Regions from separate parts of the Homo sapiens genome. Here all the other regions are linked to region 1. Evidence: promoter capture Hi-C in 16 types of primary human blood cells and fetal thymus (Javierre and others, 2016). All regions are on one chromosome and are shown on one strand. Each heading gives the region's core, a stretch centred on a gene start or on the middle of the fragment in contact. The rest is flanking DNA. Distances are from core to core; before and after follow the strand shown.

The links. Contacts are between HindIII fragments. The CHiCAGO score rates a contact against its expected background, and 5 or more counts as called.
Region 2: a contact is called between a fragment that was not itself captured here and the fragment with the promoter of KCNK13 in region 1, in 5 of 17 cell types (non-activated CD4 T cells, total B cells, total CD8 T cells and 2 more). The highest score is 7.5, in non-activated CD4 T cells.
Region 3: a fragment that was not itself captured here is called in contact with the fragment with the promoter of KCNK13 in region 1 in 1 of 17 cell types (naive CD8 T cells); the score reaches 6.2 in naive CD8 T cells.

Annotation. Positions count from the first base shown.
Region 1 is chr14:90,060,490-90,063,508 of GRCh38, reverse strand. It overlaps KCNK13 (potassium two pore domain channel subfamily K member 13), which reads right to left and starts at 1,515. Exons shown (of 2, transcript NM_022054.4): 1 at 970-1,515. The coding sequence starts at 1,303. It overlaps LOC124903406, which reads right to left. Exons shown (of 3, transcript XM_047432048.1): 2 at 2,598-3,019; 3 at 1,776-2,147. The coding sequence ends at 1,883. RefSeq lists enhancers at 1,573-2,072, 2,073-2,574 and a silencer at 2,823-3,019. The HindIII fragment of the contact is 16,748 bases long and covers 1-3,019 here.
Region 2 is chr14:88,997,015-89,000,033 of GRCh38, reverse strand. No RefSeq gene overlaps it. Among named protein-coding and RNA genes, the nearest start is that of TRA-AGC15-1, 19 kb to the right of the region's middle. The HindIII fragment of the contact is 218 bases long and covers 1,345-1,562 here.
Region 3 is chr14:89,019,004-89,022,022 of GRCh38, reverse strand. The region is part of intron 1 of LOC124903356 (a long non-coding RNA gene); the gene reads right to left. Among named protein-coding and RNA genes, the nearest start is that of TRA-AGC15-1, 41 kb to the right of the region's middle. The HindIII fragment of the contact is 4,022 bases long and covers 1-3,019 here.

The DNA.
Region 1 (3,019 bases), core at 266-2,765:
TCAGAATTTATTTCTACAGCATCTTCCCTAACCCCCATTAATCACTTGATTATTCTTCAAGGATGAACAATCTTTAGGGGTGTGGCGCAGACTCCCCCAAATCATTTTCCTTCTGCTGGGAAATAAACACAGCTGATTGTAGCTGTGCTACATCTTTGCTAAAAAATTCTCAATGGCTCCCAGGTGCCTCTAGGTAAATTCCAGCTCCTCAGTCTGTCAGTGAAGGTCCTACCCCCGCCTCCATCCCATTAGCCAGCAGACCTTCCTAGTCTTCCTTCCACCACTCCAACCAGCTCATGGGGCCCCTGAGTGCGATTCTCTCCTACTCTAGAGTGCAACCGCGCTTTCAGTTCCCAAACCCAAGTTATGCCTAACACGAATTGATTCAGCCCAAAGGTCACTTCCCTGGTTCTTCCTGGTGGAAAATTTTCCATCTTTTGAACCGTCATTGGCACTTTTGCTTCCTCACTTTCAGTCTGCTGTTCTGATTTTTTCTCGGTAAGTGTGAAGTCGAGGGCAGAATCTTTTAAAATCTGCACTTCCCCTCTGACTGACTCAGTAAATGTTTAGTTTCCTGTCCCTATCTGTAAAAGCCTTCTTCCCCATGAACTCAAGCCGTGTCTCCTTCATTAGACTGAAAATCTCCCAGAGCAGAGCGTCTCCAATTTAAGGATCATTCCAATCCTTTGGGGACTTTGTTAACATGCAGATTCTGACTCGGCAGGTCTGCAGAGGGGACTGAGACTGCATTTCTAACAAGCTGCCAGGTGACGCTGAAGCTGCCGGTGCCTGGACCACATTAGAGCAGCGGGGAGGCAATACCACCTGTTGATCAGGCGACAGCTCATGTCAGTGGAGTCTGGCTGGGCGCCCAGATGGATGAATGAAAGGATGAGAGGGTCGGTCCTGCCCCCCGGAGGAAGTGGAGGCCGCCCGGAGGTTGTCAGCGAGTCCGGCCAGCACACTTACCTATGGTGGAAACGACGGTGCCCACGAAGTAGAAGGCGCCGGTGAAGTCCCAGCGCGGGCGGACGTTGTCCACGCGGATGCCGGCCCGAGTGGCCTCCTCGTAGTGGCGGAGGAAGCCGCGCAGCTCGTCGCGGCTCAGGTTGTGGCCGCGGCTGAAGTTGGCCAGGCGCTCCTCCCAGCGCTGCTTGGCCTGGCGCTCGTGCGCCAGCTCCAGCGCGGAGAAGACGGCGGCGCCGCCCAGCAGGTAGAGCACGATGAGCGCGGCCAGCAGCAGAAAGCGCGCGTTGTCCTCGTTCAGGTGGCCCGGGCCCCAGCTGAAACCCCGGCCAGCCATGGCCGGGCCCCCGGGGGCAGCCCCCAGGCCCACGGCACCGGGCGTCGGCGGAGTCTCGCCCACACCCCCGGGAAATAAGGGCCCCGGCGCTCAGCCAGCTCCCGGGCGCCCCACCGCCGGCTCGCCCATGACCGCCGGGCTCTCCCGCAGGCCGCGAGGCTCCCCCGGCCGCCGCCTCGGTAGCTCCTGTGGCGCCAGCTCCCCACGTCCTCCTTGACTCCTAGTTTCAAATCCGCTTTGTCGCCGCCGTTCCCCTCCACTCCCCCTGCTCTCCTCGGAGTTCTCCTTAACGCTGAAGGTCCCGGGGAACGGGCGCAGAGTTCACGTCTGCTTGGCGCTGGGATGCGGGCGCAGTTTCCACCCCGGCTCCCTGTCCGGCTCAGATAGGGGAGGGGGCGTGGCGCGTCTTCAGGGCAAGCTCGAGCCAACTCGAGTTTCCCGCAAAGAGACGGTCGCGGGGCGGGGCGGGGCGGGGCGGGGCGGCGGGGGGGGGGCGCGGTCCGGAGGTCTGCGGGTAAGCAGAGCGCCGGGGTCCTGGGTCCTGGTTCCTTTGACTATCGCTTCGCAGGCCGCCGACGGCTAGGACACGGGTGTCAGTCTGCTGGCTTTGTAGGTGCCTCCCCAGGTAGATCGACGATGGTGCCTCCTAGTTGTGGTCGTGGTGTCGCGCTGAGCCTGTGGCCTCCCGAGTCTCCGAATCGGCTGCCGGGGCTTAGGGATGGAGGGGGTCCAGGGCGGGCGCACGGAGAGAGGGGCTGTGCTGAGCGGCGTCCGAGGGCTGCGGCGTCCGAGGGCTCCGACCTCCGGCCGGGCCCCAACGCTGCGCATCCGTTGGGCGGACGGGCTGGAGAGAGGAGACCAGAAAGGGAGGTTGGAACAGGGAGCAAAGGAAGTTAGGGGCTTCTCCCCCGGGCAGCCTCCCTCGCCTTGACCATGCCAGAGCGCCCTTGGTCTCTGGATCCTGCGCGGGGGCGTCCTCTGCGCCTACTAGTAGGCTCCGCCCGGACCAAGCGCGCACCGCGAGCCAGCCCCGCTTCCGGAGAGGAGGCCAAACACTGGGGGCTGGAAGGGCTCCGCGGCCAGGAGACCTTGACCTTGGAGCGTTCCATCTCTTCCCCCCGGGCTTGGCTGCCTAGTGCGTTCCAGAGTTTTGCCTGGACGCGGGGTCCGCGCAGAAGGCATCCCCCACCTCATGCAGAACAGTAGCAAGGCTCTCCAGCAAACCGCCGGGGCCCCCTCCCCGAGACCCCGCCTTGTAGCGGGCGCTGGCGCCGCTGCCGCGCTCAGATCTCACCTTCCGGGGAGCGCCCTCTCCGCGCCGCTCCGTCGGGACTGTTCCCGGGCCTCCTGGCAGCCGCGGCCCTGCCCTGCCAGCCGGCGCGCGGAGCACAGGTCCGCACCGCGCTCTGCCTTCTCAGGCGGGCGCGCTCCGACGCTGCAACAGGTAGAGCCGTGCGGCTGCCAGCTGCGGCGACTCCACCCTGTCGCCCGCCTCCTTGCGCGCGGGCCCGCCTCCTGCGCTGGTCTCCGCGGGTAGACGCTCGGCGTTCGAAGGGCCGACCCGGGGCTGCGGTGCTCCCACCAGGGCGCGCAGATCTGGGTAGTGGATGCAGAACCGGCTGGTGGGACGCTCAGCCGGTCCGCGTGGGCCCTCCGGGGCCGGGAGAGGGCGCTCTGCCCCCTCCAGACACATCCCGCCCCCGCCCGCGCACACAG
Region 2 (3,019 bases), core at 204-2,703, 1.1 Mb after region 1:
GCTGCTCCAAGCTCCCCCACCATAGTGACAAGATGGCTGCACAACTCCAGCCTGCATCCTCTCTGAGTCACCCTCTTGTAGATGAGCATGCTTAGCAGAAGTCCCTGTCCCTGGTTAGGTCATGTGCCCAACACGGAAAGCTTCCTTCTGGCTAAGGGATAGGAATAACCATAGAGCTGGATCAGTGGAGATAAGGTGGCCAACCAAACCACATGGACTAAGAATTGGGGTGGGGTGGGGGTGGGCTTTCCATACAAAAATGGAGGCTTTCATTAAAAAAAAAAGGAATAAATGCTGGGGAGTAAAATTAAAAAGTCCCCTAATGGGCCACAGACAATGAGGCAGTGGGACATTTCAAGGGCAGTGAAAGGCAGGTCAGCACCTGGGGGAAGTCACGCCAGCATGGTTCTGGAGTCAAGTTCAAATCTGCCCGCTACCACTATGGCAAAGAGGCTTCCTGATCACCAAAAAAAAAGGTGCTTCCCCTTCCATTATAGAGCATTTGTGACAGTCATGAAGGTGTACCACTCATATCACCTTTCAAGAAATAACTGCCATTCAGCTTCAAGGACTACAAGTAGCTTTAGAGCTGAAGCCCTCTTCTAGGGCACCCCTCAGGCAATGACCGAGCATGGCGGGATAGTGGAGCCGGCCATCTCTGCCCAGTGCAGGACTGCTCCAGTGGATAATCTTTACTCTAGATCTCCCTTTGAGTAGGCTGAGGCTGTCAATTCTGCCTTGCAATCTGAGGCTTGATCCCTGAATCACTGTGTGGAAGGGCTCTCACTGACCAGGAGCTTCCACCTGGGACTGTTAGGTAAGCGAAAGAGTATTTTTTCGTTTGTGGTAGTGTTTTTCTGCATGACAGTCATTTTTCCTTATAATTCTTACTCTTGTAAATACAGATATAAAAAATGAAAATAGTATAATCATCAGAAGTGGCAACAAAAAAAGAGCTTGGCTACCTTCAAATGACTACCCTTAACAAAACCACTGAAAAACCCTGGAAACCTAGCCACGTTCAGTGCTTTAAGTAACATTTTTATAGACATGTATCACATATGTGGAAAGGTGCACACAACATAAATGCACAAGATCAAGGAATTATTACAAAACAAAGCACTCTGTACTCACCACCCCAGGTCAAGAAAGAGAACATTTTCCTCACCCTAGAAGTCCTCTCCTCCCCATGCCACCCCTACTCTCTCAAAATTCTCTGCAAGCTTCAGATTCTAAGGTTAATAGAGGAAGCAGGTGTGTCCAGTTGCTTTTGTCAATGGACTGATAAATTGGCAAAAGTAGCAAGAAACTTCCTTTTAATGGTTTGCTTGTTTGCTTTAAGCTTAAAGATAAATTTTTATCTTTAAGATGTTTTTAAATCCCAGAATATTTTTAAGGTACTGGATAGAGACGGGGGGAAAAGGCAGAAGTTAAATTTTGTTCTATCCTCGCTCTGGAGTCTGATCTTGATAAGCAAAGAATGTAATTAAAATGGATTACAGACTATTAAACACCAACAAGAACAAAATGATGGCAGTGTGTGCAAGCCAGTAATTAAAGCTTTAGAAGAGGAAAAAGTCACCATCACTTATAATGTTTATTTATCAAGGTTAGTAACAAATATTGACATGAAAGCTTTTTTCTTCTATTTTTTTCTTAGCATCAGGCTGTCAGCAATTAGTGGGGCATATTCCAGAATCAATATGGCCTCAGGTTTGAAACAGTAAGATCCATACATTTCTAAATTAGTTGGCATGACAGCAGACTGGCTCCAGAGAGCAGACCTGCTTGCAACATCATTCAATTAGAGCTTATTAGAAGACAAAGAGAAACAAGTCAGGAACAGCATCTCTTAAAATTGCTTTTAACCCAAAGATATTCTTAAGATAAACATGAGGGAGAGACTTCTTAATGGCAAAGGATTTTATGTTTATCTTTATCATGAAAAACTTTAATCCATAAAGTAGAATGTTCCTTAAAATATGTGATTAAAAGCGTGGGCTCTGCAGTTACACTGCCTGGATTCAAGTCAATTCCCACTTTCTAACTGGGTGACTTTGGGCACATTGTTCAACCTTTCTGCCTCTCAGTTTCTTTATCTGCAAGATGAGAATAACAATCTTATTTACATTATAGGGTACTACAAAGAGTAAATGAGATAATATATGCAAAGGTCCTGGCATGCAGTAAGAACTCACAAGGTGTTAGCTGTTGCATTAGTCAGGATAGGCTAAGTATGATGCAGTGACGTGTGGACCCCCAACTCCCAGTGGCTTTACTCAATGAACTGAATTTCTCAGTCAAGCTATGCCCCCACCATGGGTCAATAGGGTGAGGGGTAGAAGAGAGCTGTGCTTCACATGGCCTCAAGGAACCACCACTTCGTAGCTATACCAAGAGACCTACCCATACAGCAGAAGGGGAAGAGAGCCCAGAGAAACCTACCCAGGCTTCTCATTGCCACCACCCAGAAGTGACAAACCTGGCTTCCAACATGTCTCACCATGCAGAACTAGTCTACTGAGCACCCGGGAAATGTAAGAGGCAGGTAGAATGTTTAGTGAGCATGTTATCCCCACTACATGTATCAACATCATCATCATCATCATCAATGTTATAGGCTCTGTGATGGTTTTTACTGCATGAAATTCAGAAAATACATTTTGACCTGTGATACGACTGAATCTCAGGAAAATTCAATCTTTCAACAGCTATTTATTGAATAACTATGGGTGAAGCAACACTGTTCTAAGTGTGGGACACAGAGGTGACTTGACCAGATAAGGATCCTTCTCCCATGAACCTCACAGTACAAAACAATATAACCAAACTGTTACATTGCTCCATCCTTGCTCAGAATAGAACAGATATGTTAACCGATAAAATCCAGTAACATTCGGTTCTAGCAATGGAGGGTTAGAAGTTGGTGGGAGTGGTGTTTGCCCTGAGACCTGAATGACAAGAAGGTGCCAGCCAGAGGCACCTGGAGGTCTGCAGAGGGAGATCTGCAGGAAAAATT
Region 3 (3,019 bases), core at 190-2,689, 1.0 Mb after region 1:
TCAGAGAATTTATTCAGCTGGGCATGGTGGCTCGCACCTGTAATCCCAGCACGTCGGGGGCCAAGGCAGGCAGATCACTTGAGCTCAGGAGTTTGAGACCAGCTTGGGCAATATAATGAAACCCCACTTCTTTTTTTTTTATACTTTAAGTTCTAGGGTACATGTGCACAACATGCAGCTTTGTTACATATGTATACATGTGCCATGTTGGTGTGCTGCACCCATTAACTCATCGTTTACATTAGGTATATCTCCTAATGCTATCCCTCCCCACTCCCCCCACTCCACGACAGGCCCCAGTGTGTGATGTTCCCCTTCCTGTGTCCAAGTGTTCCCATTGTTCAATTCCCACCTATGAGTGAGAACATGCGGTGTTTGGTTTTCTGTCCTTGTGATAGTTTGCTCAGAGTGATGGGTGAAACCCCATTTCTACAAAAAAATACAAAAATATTGCCAGGTGTGGTGGTGTGCACCTGTGGTCCTAGCTACTTAGGAGGCTAAGTGGGGAGGATCACTTAAGCCCAGTAGGTGGAGGTTGCAGTGAGCTGAGATTGAGCCATTGCACTCCAGCCAGGGAGACAGAGTGAGACCCTGTCTCAAAGAAAAAAAAAATTACTCCTTGACTACCTAGGCAAAATAAAAACCTGTGAAACACTTACAAAACAATTGAGTTCAGTATATGTATGTCTTATGCCCAAGTTCAAATGCCCATGAGTAGAAATTAGAGGAAAATTATGGTCAAGATGAGAAAAAACCATCCCCCAAAAGGCAAAGAAAGAATCTGATCTGATTGCCATGAAAATTCAACTCTTGATCTCCCAGGACTTGATTATCCATGGTCATAGGAATCAGCCCTTGAATAGGACAGTTCAACTGGGGTCTAAGTGGAAGGCCAGCTGGAGTAAAAGGTGTGTGGGAAAGGGGTGCTCCTCTGCTCTTAGATGTCCCAAAGCCAGTGACTTGGCAGATCTTAGGTGTTCCTTGCTTGGGGCTAATGCTAAAATTAGTGAAGTGGCCCCAAGACTTTTTACTCCAAGCAAAACACTGGAGAGATTGTTAGGAAATTACACTGTTATTTCTACTGAAGAAGCATTTGACAAAATTCAACATCCTTTTATGATAAAAATGCTAAAAAAAAAAAAAAAAAACTAGGGATAGGAAGGAACTTTCTCAACCCTTTAAAAGATATCTATGAAAACCCCACAGCTAACATCATACGTAATAGTGAAAGACTGCTTTCCCCTTAAGACCAGGAACAGGAGAGGGATGTCCACTTTTGCCACTCCTATTCAACATTGTATTTGAGTTCTAGCCAGGGCAATTAGGTAAGAAAAAGAAATAAAAGGTATCCAGATTGGAAACAAAGAAGAAACATATGTAATGACCTTGTATACAGATAATCCTAAGGAATCCACTAAAAATTTATTAGAACAAACAAGTTCAGCAAAGTTTCAGAGTACAAAATCAATATACAAAAATCAATTGTATTTCCATATACTAGCATTGAACAATGAAAATAAAATTGAGAAAACAATTCCATTTCAATAGTGTAAAAAGGAATAAAATACTCAAAAATAAATGAAAGAAGTAGGTTGGGCAAGGTGGCTCACGCCTGTAATCCCAGCACTTTGGGAGGCTGAGGTGGGTGGATCACTTGAGGCCAGGAGTTCGAGACCAGCCTGGCCAACATGGCAAAACTCTGTCTCTACTAAAAAGACAAAAATTAGCAAGGTGTGGTAGCACACACCTGTAGTCCCAGCTACTCAGGAAGCTGAGGTGGGAGGATCGCTTGAACCCAGGAGGCAGAGGTTGCCATGAGCCGAGATGGCACCACTGCACTCCAGCCTGGGAGACAGAGTAAGACACTGTCTCAAAAAAAAAAAAAAAAAAAAAAAAAAAAAAAAAAAAAAAAAAAAGCAAACCTTATATCCAAAAGACTAAAAATCTAAAAATCATTGTTGGAAGAAATTGAAGGTCTAAATAAATAGAAGAATATCCCATGTTCATGGATTAGAAGAGTTAATATTACTCAGATAGCAATATTCCCTAAACTGATCTACAGATTGAACACATTCCCTATTAAAATCTCAGATGTCTTTTTGCAGATATTGACAAGCTGATACTAAAATTCTTAAGGAAGTGTAAGGGACTGAGAACAGCCAACACAATCTTGAAAAAGAAGAACGACATTGGAGGACTCACATTCTCTGATTTTAGAGCTAACTACAATTCTGCAGTGATCAAGAACATGTGGTACTGTCTATATGAGGACGGACAGACAGATCAGTGGAATGGAATTGAGGGTCCAGAAATAAACTCTCACATGCATGGTCAATTGATTTTCAAGATGAGTGCCTAGAAAATTCAATGGGGAAAGAGTATTCTTTTCAACGAATAGTGCTGGGACAACTGGAAGTCCACATGCAAAAGAATGAATCTGGACCCTTGCCTCACATTACATATAAACATGAACTCAAAATGGATCACAGACCTAACTGTGAGAAATAAAACTTTAATCTTAGAAGGCAAACCACTGTGATTTTTATTTTAAAATGATTCCTTAATTATGATACCAAAAGCACAGCAACAAACAGAAAAGGAGATTGTTTGGGCTTTGTCAAAATTAATATTCATGATTAAAAGGATACCATCAAGAAAGTGTAAAGACAACACACAGAATGGGAGAAAATATTTACAAATAATATATCAGTAAGGCACTTGTGTCTAAAATATATTTTAAAAACTCTTACAACTAAGTAATAAAAAGACAATTCAACTTAAAAATGGGCAAAGTTTCTGAAGAGAACTTTCTCCAAAGAAGATACACAAATGACCAACAGGCAAAAATATATTACCATCATTTATCATCAGGGAAATGCAAATTAAACTACAATGAGATAATACTTCACATTCACAGGATGGCTATAATAAAAAAAATCAGACAATAAAAAGTGTTGGAAAAGATGTAGAGAAATTGGAATTATCATACACTGCGGGCAGGAATGTAAAATGGTGCAGC